Linked DNA regions of Homo sapiens: regions 1, 2 and 3 are each linked to region 4. Evidence: promoter capture Hi-C in human tissues and cell types (Jung and others, 2019). All regions are on one chromosome and are shown on one strand. Each heading gives the region's core, a stretch centred on a gene start or on the middle of the fragment in contact. The rest is flanking DNA. Distances are from core to core; before and after follow the strand shown. Region 1 overlaps PDYN-AS1 (PDYN antisense RNA 1). Region 2 overlaps LOC105372505 (a long non-coding RNA gene). Region 3 has its middle 10 kb from the start of STK35. Region 4 holds the start of TGM6 (transglutaminase 6).

What was found. Contacts are between HindIII fragments. The study calls those that stand out against the background at their distance.
Region 1: a contact is called between a fragment that was not itself captured here and the fragment with the promoter of TGM6 in region 4, in 3 of the 25 tissues and cell types used here (IMR-90 fibroblasts, dorsolateral prefrontal cortex and lymphoblastoid cells).
Region 2: a contact is called between a fragment that was not itself captured here and the fragment with the promoter of TGM6 in region 4, in 1 of the 25 tissues and cell types used here (mesendoderm cells).
Region 3: a fragment that was not itself captured here is called in contact with the fragment with the promoter of TGM6 in region 4 in 1 of the 25 tissues and cell types used here (hippocampus).

What each region holds. Positions count from the first base shown.
Region 1 is chr20:1,957,377-1,960,108 of GRCh38, forward strand. The region is part of intron 2 of PDYN-AS1 (PDYN antisense RNA 1); the gene reads left to right. Among named protein-coding and RNA genes, the nearest start is that of PDYN-AS1, 12 kb to the left of the region's middle. The HindIII fragment of the contact is 7,949 bases long and covers 1-2,732 here.
Region 2 is chr20:2,643,635-2,646,334 of GRCh38, forward strand. It overlaps LOC105372505 (a long non-coding RNA gene), which reads right to left. Exons shown (of 5, transcript XR_007067502.1): 2 at 94-747. Among named protein-coding and RNA genes, the nearest start is that of NOP56, 7.6 kb to the right of the region's middle. The HindIII fragment of the contact is 9,020 bases long and covers 1-2,700 here.
Region 3 is chr20:2,090,302-2,093,001 of GRCh38, forward strand. No RefSeq gene overlaps it. Among named protein-coding and RNA genes, the nearest start is that of STK35, 10 kb to the right of the region's middle. The HindIII fragment of the contact is 4,435 bases long and covers 1-2,700 here.
Region 4 is chr20:2,379,536-2,382,332 of GRCh38, forward strand. TGM6 (transglutaminase 6) reads left to right here and starts at 1,366. Exons shown (of 13, transcript NM_198994.3): 1 at 1,366-1,440. The coding sequence starts at 1,434. The HindIII fragment of the contact is 30,296 bases long and covers 1-2,797 here.

The DNA.
Region 1 (2,732 bases), core at 51-2,550, 420 kb before region 4:
CAAGGAAGTCTCAAAGTGCAGGGTGGTGGGGTGGGAGAATACACACAAAATAATGTGAAATATAACAGTGCAAATGAAAACAATGGGGTAGGAATCTAATGAAGGAAATGATGGTATCTTTGAAGTCAGAGAGGACCTGGGTTCAAATCCTGTTTCTTTCAACTCCTAGCTTTGGACAGTAATATGCAAAGACTATTTTTAGGCTTAAACTAGTTAAAATGACAGGTAAAAAATACCTGGAAACAAGTAAAGTTTCCTGTTTCCAGGATTCTCACAATTGCAGCCCAAGGGCCAAATATGGCATATAGAAGGTCTTGTTTGGTGCATCCAGTATTTTTGAAAAAAAAATTTAGTAGAGGAATTAGGATGGCTTAGACCAATAGATCCTGGTTGCCCAACTTAAACCCCTGGAAATATATTTGTTCCTCTAGAAGAGATCTGGGTTCATTCACTGACTTCTCCTTCTGGTCAAGGTGGAATAACAGAGAATGGGTTTATCCTCTTAGCTGAAACAAAAAAATCTGGGGAAAACATATGAATCAACAGTTTTCAAGACATTGGACATCAGGCAACACAGAACCGTGATCCCTGAGAGAGAGAAAACAAAAGAGAGCCTAGCAATTGCCTCTGCTTACTATCTGGAGAGAGTTTTCAGGCCACGGCACAGGACAGGGAGTCCAGGTAGGGCCCGGGGGTCTTCCTGAGTTGAAGAGATGGAGCTGGGTGGCTGCTATGGTTAGAATGTTTTTGTCCCCTGTAAAAAATTATGTTGAGGCTGGATACAGTGGCTCACGCCCTTAATCCCAACACTTTGGGAGGCCAAGGCAGGAGGATTGCTTGAGGCCAGGCGTTCAAAATAAGCCTGTACAACATAGTGAGACCCCATCTCTACAAAATAAAATTTTTTTAAATAGCCAGGCATGGTGATGCACACCTGTAGTCCCAGCTACTCAGGAGGCTGAGGTGGGAGGAACACTTGAGTCTAGGAGACTAAGGCTGCAATGAGGCATGGTTATACCGCTGCACTCCAGCCTGGTTAACAGAGCAAAACCCTATCTCCAAAAAAAAAAAAAAATTAAATTTATGTTGAAACCTAACCCCTAATGCAATAGTGTTGGGAGATGGGGCCTTTTGGAAGGTGTTTAGTCATGAGGACTCTGCCCTCATGAATGGATTAATGTTGTTATAAAAGGGCTTCATGAAGGTAGTCTATCCTTTTGCCCTTCTGCCCTCTGCCATATAAGGACATGGCATTTCTCCCCTCTGGAGGACACAGCATTGAAGGCGTCATCTTGGAAGCAGAGAACAGCTCTCACTAGACATCCAACACTGGCATCTTGATCTTGAACTTCCCAGCCTCTAGAACCATGAGAAATAAATTTCTGTTCTTTATAAATTACCCAGACTTGGGTATTTTTGTTGTAGCAATGCAAACGCATTAATCCAGAGGCCAAGGTGTCTGGAGTTCACAGGGCAGAGTATCACTGAGAAGAGAGCTTGTGGGGAGGAGCAGGTTCAAGAGCACAGGTGACCTCTGGCGATCAGCAGAGAGCCCCTCCTGTCTTCTGAGTACTAATGAGCATGTGCATGTATGAAACCTACCTGAGGAGCAAAGAACCACCTGATTAGATTAGAGGGAACAACCCCAGGTTCCCCCACAGGGCTGGGAATAGTCTCTGTTCTTAGGAGCCAGAGTGAAAAATCTCACAGGGCTTTAGGCAGAGGATTCACAAGGTTTCTTCCTTAGTAGCTGGACAAAATTTGCTCTAAACATGGATATGGTTCCATCTAAAAATGTTTAAAAGCAAAGATTAAACTAATTCCAAGGAACTTGACTGTGTCCCAGAAAAAAAAAAATCAAACATATTTATAGAAACACACACAAAAAAACCTAGCACATGATGATGTAAATTCAGTGTCTGGTATCCATTAAAAAAATTGCCAGGCATGCAAAGAAGCAAGGAAATTCAATCCATTAATGAGGAGAAAATTTGATCATTGGAAACTGACCCGGAAATGACACAAATGATAGAACTGATAAATAAAGACATTAAAACCATGATTATAGCTGTATTTCATAGGTTCAGGAAACTAGAGGAAGGACTGAGTTACTAAATTGTGATATGGAAGACAGCAAAAAGGCTCGTATAAAAAAGATTAGTGAAATTAAATATATAGCAAGAGAAACTATCCAGAATGAACCATAGAGAAAAAAAAGACTGAAAAAAAAAAATGAACAGAGTATCAGCAAAATGTGGGACAACTTCCAGTATAATATACATATACACACAACACACAACACACACACCCTCACACATAGGTATGTGTATAAGCAGATAGACATATTTATAAGCAGATAAATATATACATATGTGTATATATGTGTGTGTATATATAGATCAAATATATATATATATATATATGAGAGAGCTTGAAGGAGAAATAATGGTTGAAAATTTGCCAAATTTGATGTAAACAAAATTCACAGACTGAAGAAACCCAGTGAACCCCAAGCACATTAATTCATCACAGTCTCTACCTTCTACTTCCGACTGATATTATACCACTTTGCCTTACGAGATTATACTTGAGACTCTCACAACATTAAGCAAATGACACCAAGGGCCATTATAATCAAATTACTCAAAACTAGACATAAACTAAAAACCTTAAAGGCAGCCAGAAAATAAAAAACCCAGGTTATATATACACATGAACAAATATAAGGCCGG
Region 2 (2,700 bases), core at 175-2,674, 260 kb after region 4:
TGGTTCCGGATATTTCAGTCAAATTCTCAGCTAGGGCTACAATTATTGGAAGGTCTGACTGGGACTGAAAGATCTGCTCTCAACATGGCTCACACGTGACTGTTGGCAGGAGGCTTCTGTTCCTTGCTGGCTATTGATAGGGGACCTTGGTTACTCTCCATGTAGGCCTCTCCATAGAGCTGCTTGGGTGTCCTCACAACATGGCTGCTGGTTTCCCCCAGAGCAAGTGATCTGAGAGGGAGAGCAAGGAGGAAGCCACAATGCCTATTATGACCTAGTCTCAGAAGTCACACTATCAGTTCCACCACTTTTACTCATAGAACTGAGTCACTAAGTCTAGCTCACACTGGAAGGGAAGGGATTTAGGCTTCACTTCTTGAAGGGAGGGTTACCAAAGAATTTGTGGACATATTTTAACAGAAAATTTTCTAATTCAAATAATTACAAGACCTCTATCAAGACAACTCTGGCCAGGCGTGGTGGCTCATGCCTGTAATCCCAGCACTTTGGGAGGCCGAGGTGGGTGGATCACTTGAGGTCAGAAGTTTGAGACCAGCCTGGCCAACATGGTGAAACCTCGTCTCTACTAAAAATACAAAAATTAACCAGGTGTGGTGGTGCGCTTCTGTAATCCCAGCTACTTGGGAGGCTGAGGCAGGAGAATCGCTTGAACCCAGGAGGCGGAGGTTGCAGTGAGCCGAGATTGTACCACTGTACTCCAGCTTGGGTGACAGAGCAAGACTCCGTCTGAAAAGAAAAGAAAAAAAAGAAAGAAGAAAATTAACCATTTATCCAGAGAAATATAACTGGTGTCCTGCTGATATTACCCTAGTTTGGCTGCGCATTCCTAACTGGAGAGAAATGGAGCAGATGCTGGATTTTATCTGTTGGAAGCTATTTTTGTAGGCTGATCCTTTCACTTCTAATAACTTCAACTTCCATTTCTATTTCCTAAGAGCTCCATAGTACACAGAATCACATAAGTAGGAAGACACTTTAGATGAAGAAGATCAAAGGGGATACCTGGTCTCCCACTGATTTGCACACTCGCAGAAACTAAGGGGAGGGGCTGATGCACCAGCCAGTAAGGTGATCTGGGCAGGTTACCAATAGCACTCACTATGGTGGTAACGCTCAGCTCAGTAAAGTCACTTCAGACGTGCTCTGAAGTGGGTGGGTAGAGACCCACCCAAAGCTGGAGCACCAAGTTCCTCATGCTCAATAATGGACAATAAAAAATAAACCCGCCATGCAGAAAGAGACATGTATTTCTCTTGACCTTGGCAGAAAGTAGAGGAGAAAAAGTCTCCATTGAGAAGTTCTAGCCACAAGGCAGCTCTCACAGAGAGGCTCTAAATTCATATGCTACAGTTGACCCTTGAACAACACTGGGTCTAGGAGTGCTGACCCCCCTGCAGTCAAAAACCCATGTATAGCTTTTGACTTCCCCAGAAGTTAACTAATGGTAGTCTGCTGTTGAATGGAAGTTTTACTGATAACATAAAGTCAGTTAACACAAATTTTATATGTTACATGTATTAATACTGTATTCTTGCAATAGAATAAGCTAGCTAGGAAAAAATGTTATTAAGAAGATCATGAAGAGGAGAAAATATATTTAATATTCATCAAGCAAAAGTGGATCATCGTAAGTCTTCATCCTTGTCATCTTCATGCTGAGTAGGCTGAGGAGGAGGAGGAGGAGGAAGAAAAGGGGTCGGTCTTGCTGTCTTAGGGGTGGCAGAGATGGAAGAAAATCACATATAAGTGGATCTGTGAAGTTCAAACCCATGTTGTTCAAGGGTCAACTGTATCTGTATGTTCCAAAAAACTCAAATGAAAATTTTAATTTATTTTTTTCAAGACTTTCAGGCCAGGCGTGATGGCTCACACCTGTAATCCCAGCACTTTGGAAGGCCAAGACGGGTGGATCACAAGGTCAAGAGGCCGAGACCATCCTGTCCAACATGGTGAAACCCCGTCTCTACCAAAAATTCAAAAATCAGCTGGGCATGTTGGCTCATGCCTGTAATCCCAGCCACTCGAGAGGCTGAGGCAGGAGAATCGCTTGAACCCGGGAGGCGGAGGTTGTGGTGAGCCGAGATTGTACCATTGCACTCCAGTCTGGGCAACAAGAGCAAAACCCCATCTCAGAAAAGAAAAAAAAAAGTGGCATTAGGTTGATAGTGCCTCCAAAACAGGAAGAAAAAAGGCAAATAAACAAAAATAGCACAACAAATAAAATATAAAGCACATAAGACGAAAGAAATAAACCAAAATATATCAGGAATCAAAATAAATGCAAACGGACTAAACTTCTAGATAGAAGGCAAAGACTATCTGATGGAGATTTTAAAATCCTATAAGCTGTTCCCAAGAGATGACTTTAAAACTAAGGATAGAGGCCAGGCATGGTGGCTCATGCCTGTAATCCTAGCATTTTGGAGGCTGAGGCAAGTGGATTGCTTGAGCCCAGGAGTTCGAGACCAGCCTGGGCAAAATGGTGATACCCCATTTCTACAAAAAATACAAAAATTAGCCAGTGCATGCCTGTAGTTCCAACTACTCGGAAGGCTGAGATGGAAAGGATCGCTTGAGCCCAGGAGTCAGAGGTTGCAGTGAGCCGAGACCACACCACTGCACTACAGCCTGGGTGACAAAGTGAGGGACCCTGTCTCAAAAACAAAAATAAGATAGGAA
Region 3 (2,700 bases), core at 88-2,587, 290 kb before region 4:
ACACACTTTATAAAGATGTAAGCCTTAAGAAAGAGCACTTTTAAAAGCAATACATAAAATGTTTGGATGTTGTGATCACAAATATAAACCAATGGGAGAAATGGAAAAACAATCTGTCCTAAGATTTAGTGCACTGGGAATTCTAAGATAAAATATTTCAGAGAAAGCATCATATAGAGGCTCAAAAAGTACTGGATCACAATTTGGATAGGAGTGAAAATTATGTGACCTAGAAAGAAGGCTGAGCGACATAGAAATCATCCCCAGTGACTGAGATCAAAGGTGCTCAGAAAGAGATGAAAAGAATTGTTTTGTGAAATGGAAGAATGGGAGAAAATCCAATATTTCTCAATGTTGAAAGTGTGTATGTACCTAAAATAATAAATTAAATATTACACAGATATTTGATTATTTATACCACCTTAAGAATTTATATATTCAAGTTGAGACCCCAAATATTTTCTCTTCTGCAATCTTCTTAGTGTGACAAGTGAGAGGGACACCTTACATTTTGGGCCACCCTATGTTGAGACATGTCTAATAGGTGAAAGCACTTTAAATCCCACAAAGCTTTGTATGATTTGTGACAAGTACTGTTATGGTGGTTAATACTATTTTTATTATGACTTTTCTACCACAGGGTGGACTCTTTGGCTATGCTCCTCTAAGCACTTCTCCAGGTGGGACTCCCCTGAACTATTTCCAAGTTGTGGGAATTTTTTTTTTTTTTTTTTTTTTTGAGACGGAGTCTTGCTCTGTCGCCCAGGCTGGCTGGAGTGCAGTGGTACGATCTCAGCTCACTGCAACCTCCACCTCCTGGGTTCAAGCCATTCTCCTGCCTCAGCCTCCCAGGTAGCTGGGATTACAGGCATGCACCACAATGGCTGGCTAATTTTTGTATTTTTAGTAGAGATGGGGTTTCACCATGTTGGCCAGGCTGGTCTCGAACTCCTGACCTCAGGTCATCCACCTGCCTCAGCCTCCCAAAGCGCTGGGATTACAGGCATGAGCCACCGTGCCCGGCTAATTTCCTAGCTGTATGATCTTAAGCAAGCTGCATAACTTGTCTGTGTCTCTGTTTCCTCATCTGTCAAGTAGAGATAATAACAGGATTGAGAATTCAATAAATTATTATATTGAGAAGTGTTTATAACAGTGTCTGGTAAATGCTTCTTAAATGTTAGTTATTATTTTCAGCAAGGGAGAACTTAACTGTTTGTAAACACATCAGTTTTCTTCACCATATGATGAGATTTTACCACCAGGGACCCTGTCTTATTCATCCCAGGATCCCCAACTCAAACACGGGGGCTAACATATAGTAAATGTTTGCTGAACCTACAATAATTTCTATAAAGAAAGAAAGGTAGTATATAAAGTCCAGAGCCCAACACAGACCCTGGTTCCCATTAGTTGAAAGAGGCACACCGTGAGTGTTGATAACTGGCTCAGCCTCATTTCTCACTGACCAACCAAACTCTAAAACAGCATCACAGTGCGATAGAGCTGGAAAAGACTCAAGACTGGATGTTTCTTCGTGTCTTCTCTAAACAATGAGTTCCTCTACAATAGGAACTGAGTTCAATTCATCTCAGTCCCCAGTCTGGCAAACAGTAGGGGCTTAATAAGTACTCATTGACCAAATGAGTGATGAAGTACATTCTACACTATTGTACGTTACTTGTTTTTTAAACTGAATTTTATTTTTTTAAATACCTACAAAAAAGAACTCAAATTAATACCCAAATATGCACATAAAAACTTCAAATCATACAAAATTATCCTGAAAGTGAAAGAATCACCTAGGGAGAATTCTTGGCATCTAGAGTATTATTTATACAAATGTTTCCATTATGTATACAGAAATTAACATGTAAGTACAAACGCTGTATCATGTGCTAGTTCAAGATCAAGAGCTTTGGAATCAGATACACCAGGGTTGGAATCCAAGTTCCATCGCTTTTTAGTGGTATAGCCTTGAAAAAGTAATAACCTCTTTGTGCCTCAGTTTCTATGGAAAATAGAGCTAAAAATAAAACCTACCCTAAGGCTTATTGGATTAATTAATTAATTATTACATATGAGCACTTAGAACCATCAGAATACACAGAAGTAACTCAATGAAGGTTAGCAATTATGTATACATGTTTAAACAAAATGTGGTCATATTATAGATGCTTGTTTGCATTTGCTTTTTTATGTAACAAAATATTGTGTACATGTATTGTATGGTAGTACATACAGAGCTAACTCCTTCTTTTGATGGGCATGTATTTAAATATATGATGACCCTGTGTAACCAAGCCTCTACTTTTGGTATTGTTTCTAATATTTTATTATTATTTTATATATATATATATATATATCTCACCACAATAAAATCCTTGTTGCACATATATTTTTCCACACCATGTGAGTACTTCTATAGGATAAATTCCTAGAAACGGAATAGCTGATCAAAGTGTATTAATTTTTAATTATATTAATAAACAATGAGTTATCAATTTGCCTTTCTAAAAGACTGTATCACTTTACATTTTGATTAGTGAGTGTACTTTGTTGCCTTATGGTTGTGTACATTTTAACCAGACGCCCCAATAATTTATTTTGAATGTCCCAGTAGTTACAGAATTAAGGACTTTGCCCTGCTCATTTGGCATTATAGCCCTTTATCTTTCCAAAAATCATAAACAACTCCTA
Region 4 (2,797 bases), core at 116-2,615:
AGGATGAAAGATAAAAGGGCCCTGAATAAGACCATCATTAGTGGGGAGGAGCCTGACCCTGCATAGGCAGAAAAGCAGCTTCAGCAGGGCCCAGGGTCTACAGGGCAGCAGCCTGCAGGGTGTTGAGGAAGGAGCTGCCCTGGGCTGCTGCCAGATGTCAGTAATTATAAGGCTATGTGGGTCTGCAGACAGCTCATTAAAGACGCTTGATCTGCGTGAAACCAGGAAGCAGAACTCAGCCTCTTTGCCACTTTCTGTAAGAAATCCAACCACATCAAACACTTTGGGGTTTTTATGCAGTTTCCTGAATGTTGGGGTGATCCCAGGGAGCGGCCTCATCCTACTGTGCTCAGCACACGGTTGTCTCCTTACCCTTCCTTGTCTCTTTCCCTCGATTCTACCCCCTCCCACTTCCCCTTCCTCACTGGCCCAGGCCACATCCAGCCTTCGATAGCCCCAAGTCATCCATCAAAGCATTTCTCCGGCAAAAAGAAACCTACCCCACCGGCTTCCATGAAAATAAAATCCCCTCTATTTCATTAACAAAAGACCTCAGATGCCTTGAATTCCAGCACCTTCAAGCCCAGAATCTTAGACTTTGAGCTGGAATGGCCCTGAAGAATAATTGAGTCCAATCCCTTTAGTTTGTAGGTAGAAACACCAGGGTTCCAGGAGGGGAGAGGTCTTGTCCAAGGTCACGGGACACCCATGGCCACCAGGCCTCTAAGCTCCTGGCTGGAGGCCACTCACAAAGTCAGGGCAGATGGGCCTAGCTTCTGAGTCAGAACCAGCTCTCCCCTTTTTCTTATCTACCTCCTCTCAAGAGTCTAGTGTCCACCAAGGAAGTCTAGTGGCCCTGAAGGAGGATCATGGACCTCTGCCTCTTTAGATGCCTGCAGAACAGAGTGGAGCTGTGGGCCCAGGAGTCTTCTGCTCTCACCCAGGAGGGGAGAGGGAGCCACAGACTGACCCGGCACTGCAGCGTGCAACCATGTACTTCGGGGTCCTGGCGCTGAGCCTGTTTTTTCTCATTTGAGGGTTGTTGTGAGGGCTAAGAATGGCCAACCATAAATCCGAGTTCCCTCAGTCTTCTCTCTTTCCCCGTTCTTTTTCTTGCCAGGCTTGTGACCTTTCTGAGCCTCAGTTTCTCCACAGTCCCATTCGCAACTCCGTGTTTCCAAGGTCTCTTGGCAGGAGCCACTCCCACAGTGAACCCCTCTAGGTGCAATTACAGGATGATTTTGTGTCTCGTGGGTGTCGCTGCTAGGGTGGAGGGCCACGCCTCCTCTTTTGAATTCTGACTTTCCTGCCTAGGAGTGTCCCAAGGTTTTCCTTGTTAAAATTGGTCTGGCTGGCTGCTGTGACGCGCCACACTGTCCTGACGGTGCACACACTGCTGTGTGGAGGAACAGAGGAGTCCAGCTGGCCTTCACATGGCAGGTAAGTGGGCAGAGCCTGGGGCCTTGGGACACCAGGGCTCATGAGGGGGGCTTCAAGAAACACGGGTCTGTGGGATGACGTTTGATCATCGATTGTTAGGATTTTACAGCTGGATAGTCCACCATGAACACATGAACTCTTCGTGTGGATTCATGAGGCCCAGGATGAAAAAGCCAGCTTTAAGCCACCCAGCAAGGCCATGGCCCAGGCTGGCTCAGGCGCTGTCTCCTGGGCTGGGGCCAGGTCTCACCCCTGTGCCTCGGAGGACTGAAGGAGGCAGGCACAGGAAGGCAGGGGCAGAAAAAAGAAAATCTCCTTGCACCCCATGCACATTCCATGGATCCAGAGACGTTTCTGGGCATAGTTGGGAATTGTGGCCTGCGTGGGAAGGAGTGAGAGGCCCCCACCGGCTGCATCCTCGCCTGATTCCCACCCCAAGCACTTGAGGGCAAGAGCAGCTCTGGCTCAAGTGAAAACAGCTATATGACCTTGAGCAAGAAAATTTGCCCTTGGTACCTCTGTTTTCTGATCTGTGTAATGGGGATTATAATGCAAATTATCTCACAGCCTTGCTGTGAGGAGTTGGTGAGACCACGTGTGCTGTTCTCCCACCACACATCTCAAGTGGGGACTTGTAAACAGTAGACTCAGAAAATGTGGGTCGGGCACAGTGGCTCACGCCTCTAATCCCAGCATTTTGGGAGGCTGAAGGGGGTGGAATTCTTGAGCTCAGGAGTTTGAGACCAGCCTGGGCAATGTGGCAAAACCCCGTCTCTACAAAAAAATACAACAATTAGCTAGGCATGGTGGGGAACACCCAAAGTCCCAGCTACTTGGGAGGCTGAGGTGAGAGGATCGCTTGAGCTTAGGAGGTAGAGGCTACAGTGAGCCAAGATGGTGCCACTGCACTGCAGGCTGGGCAACAGAGTGAGACCCTGTCTCAAAAAAAAAAGAAAGTAAGATAATGTGTCCCCCACGACCTCAATATAGTGAGCAGCAAACTCCCTCTGCAAGAACTTGTCTTAGATGCTGGGGCCCGGTAATGAGCAAGTCAGCAGAACCAGGGGTCCTACACTCACAGGTATTCAAGGGGTGTTTCTGAGTCTGTGTCTGCCAGTTTTAATTGTTCAGCATTATGTGACAGTTTTATGAATCAAATATTTTTTTAACTTTCAAAGGCAGATATTTGAATTTCCTCATCATAGTCTAGCTTCCTCTTCATATTTCCTCCTGGCAGTTAACAGCATTGCTGGACGTGTTGGGCCCTTCAGGCTCCTAGGATAGGTCTGTTCTGAAGACCAGGCCTTGCCAACACCAGCTCACAGCCCAGACTGCCTGTTTCCAGAGCTGGGGTTGC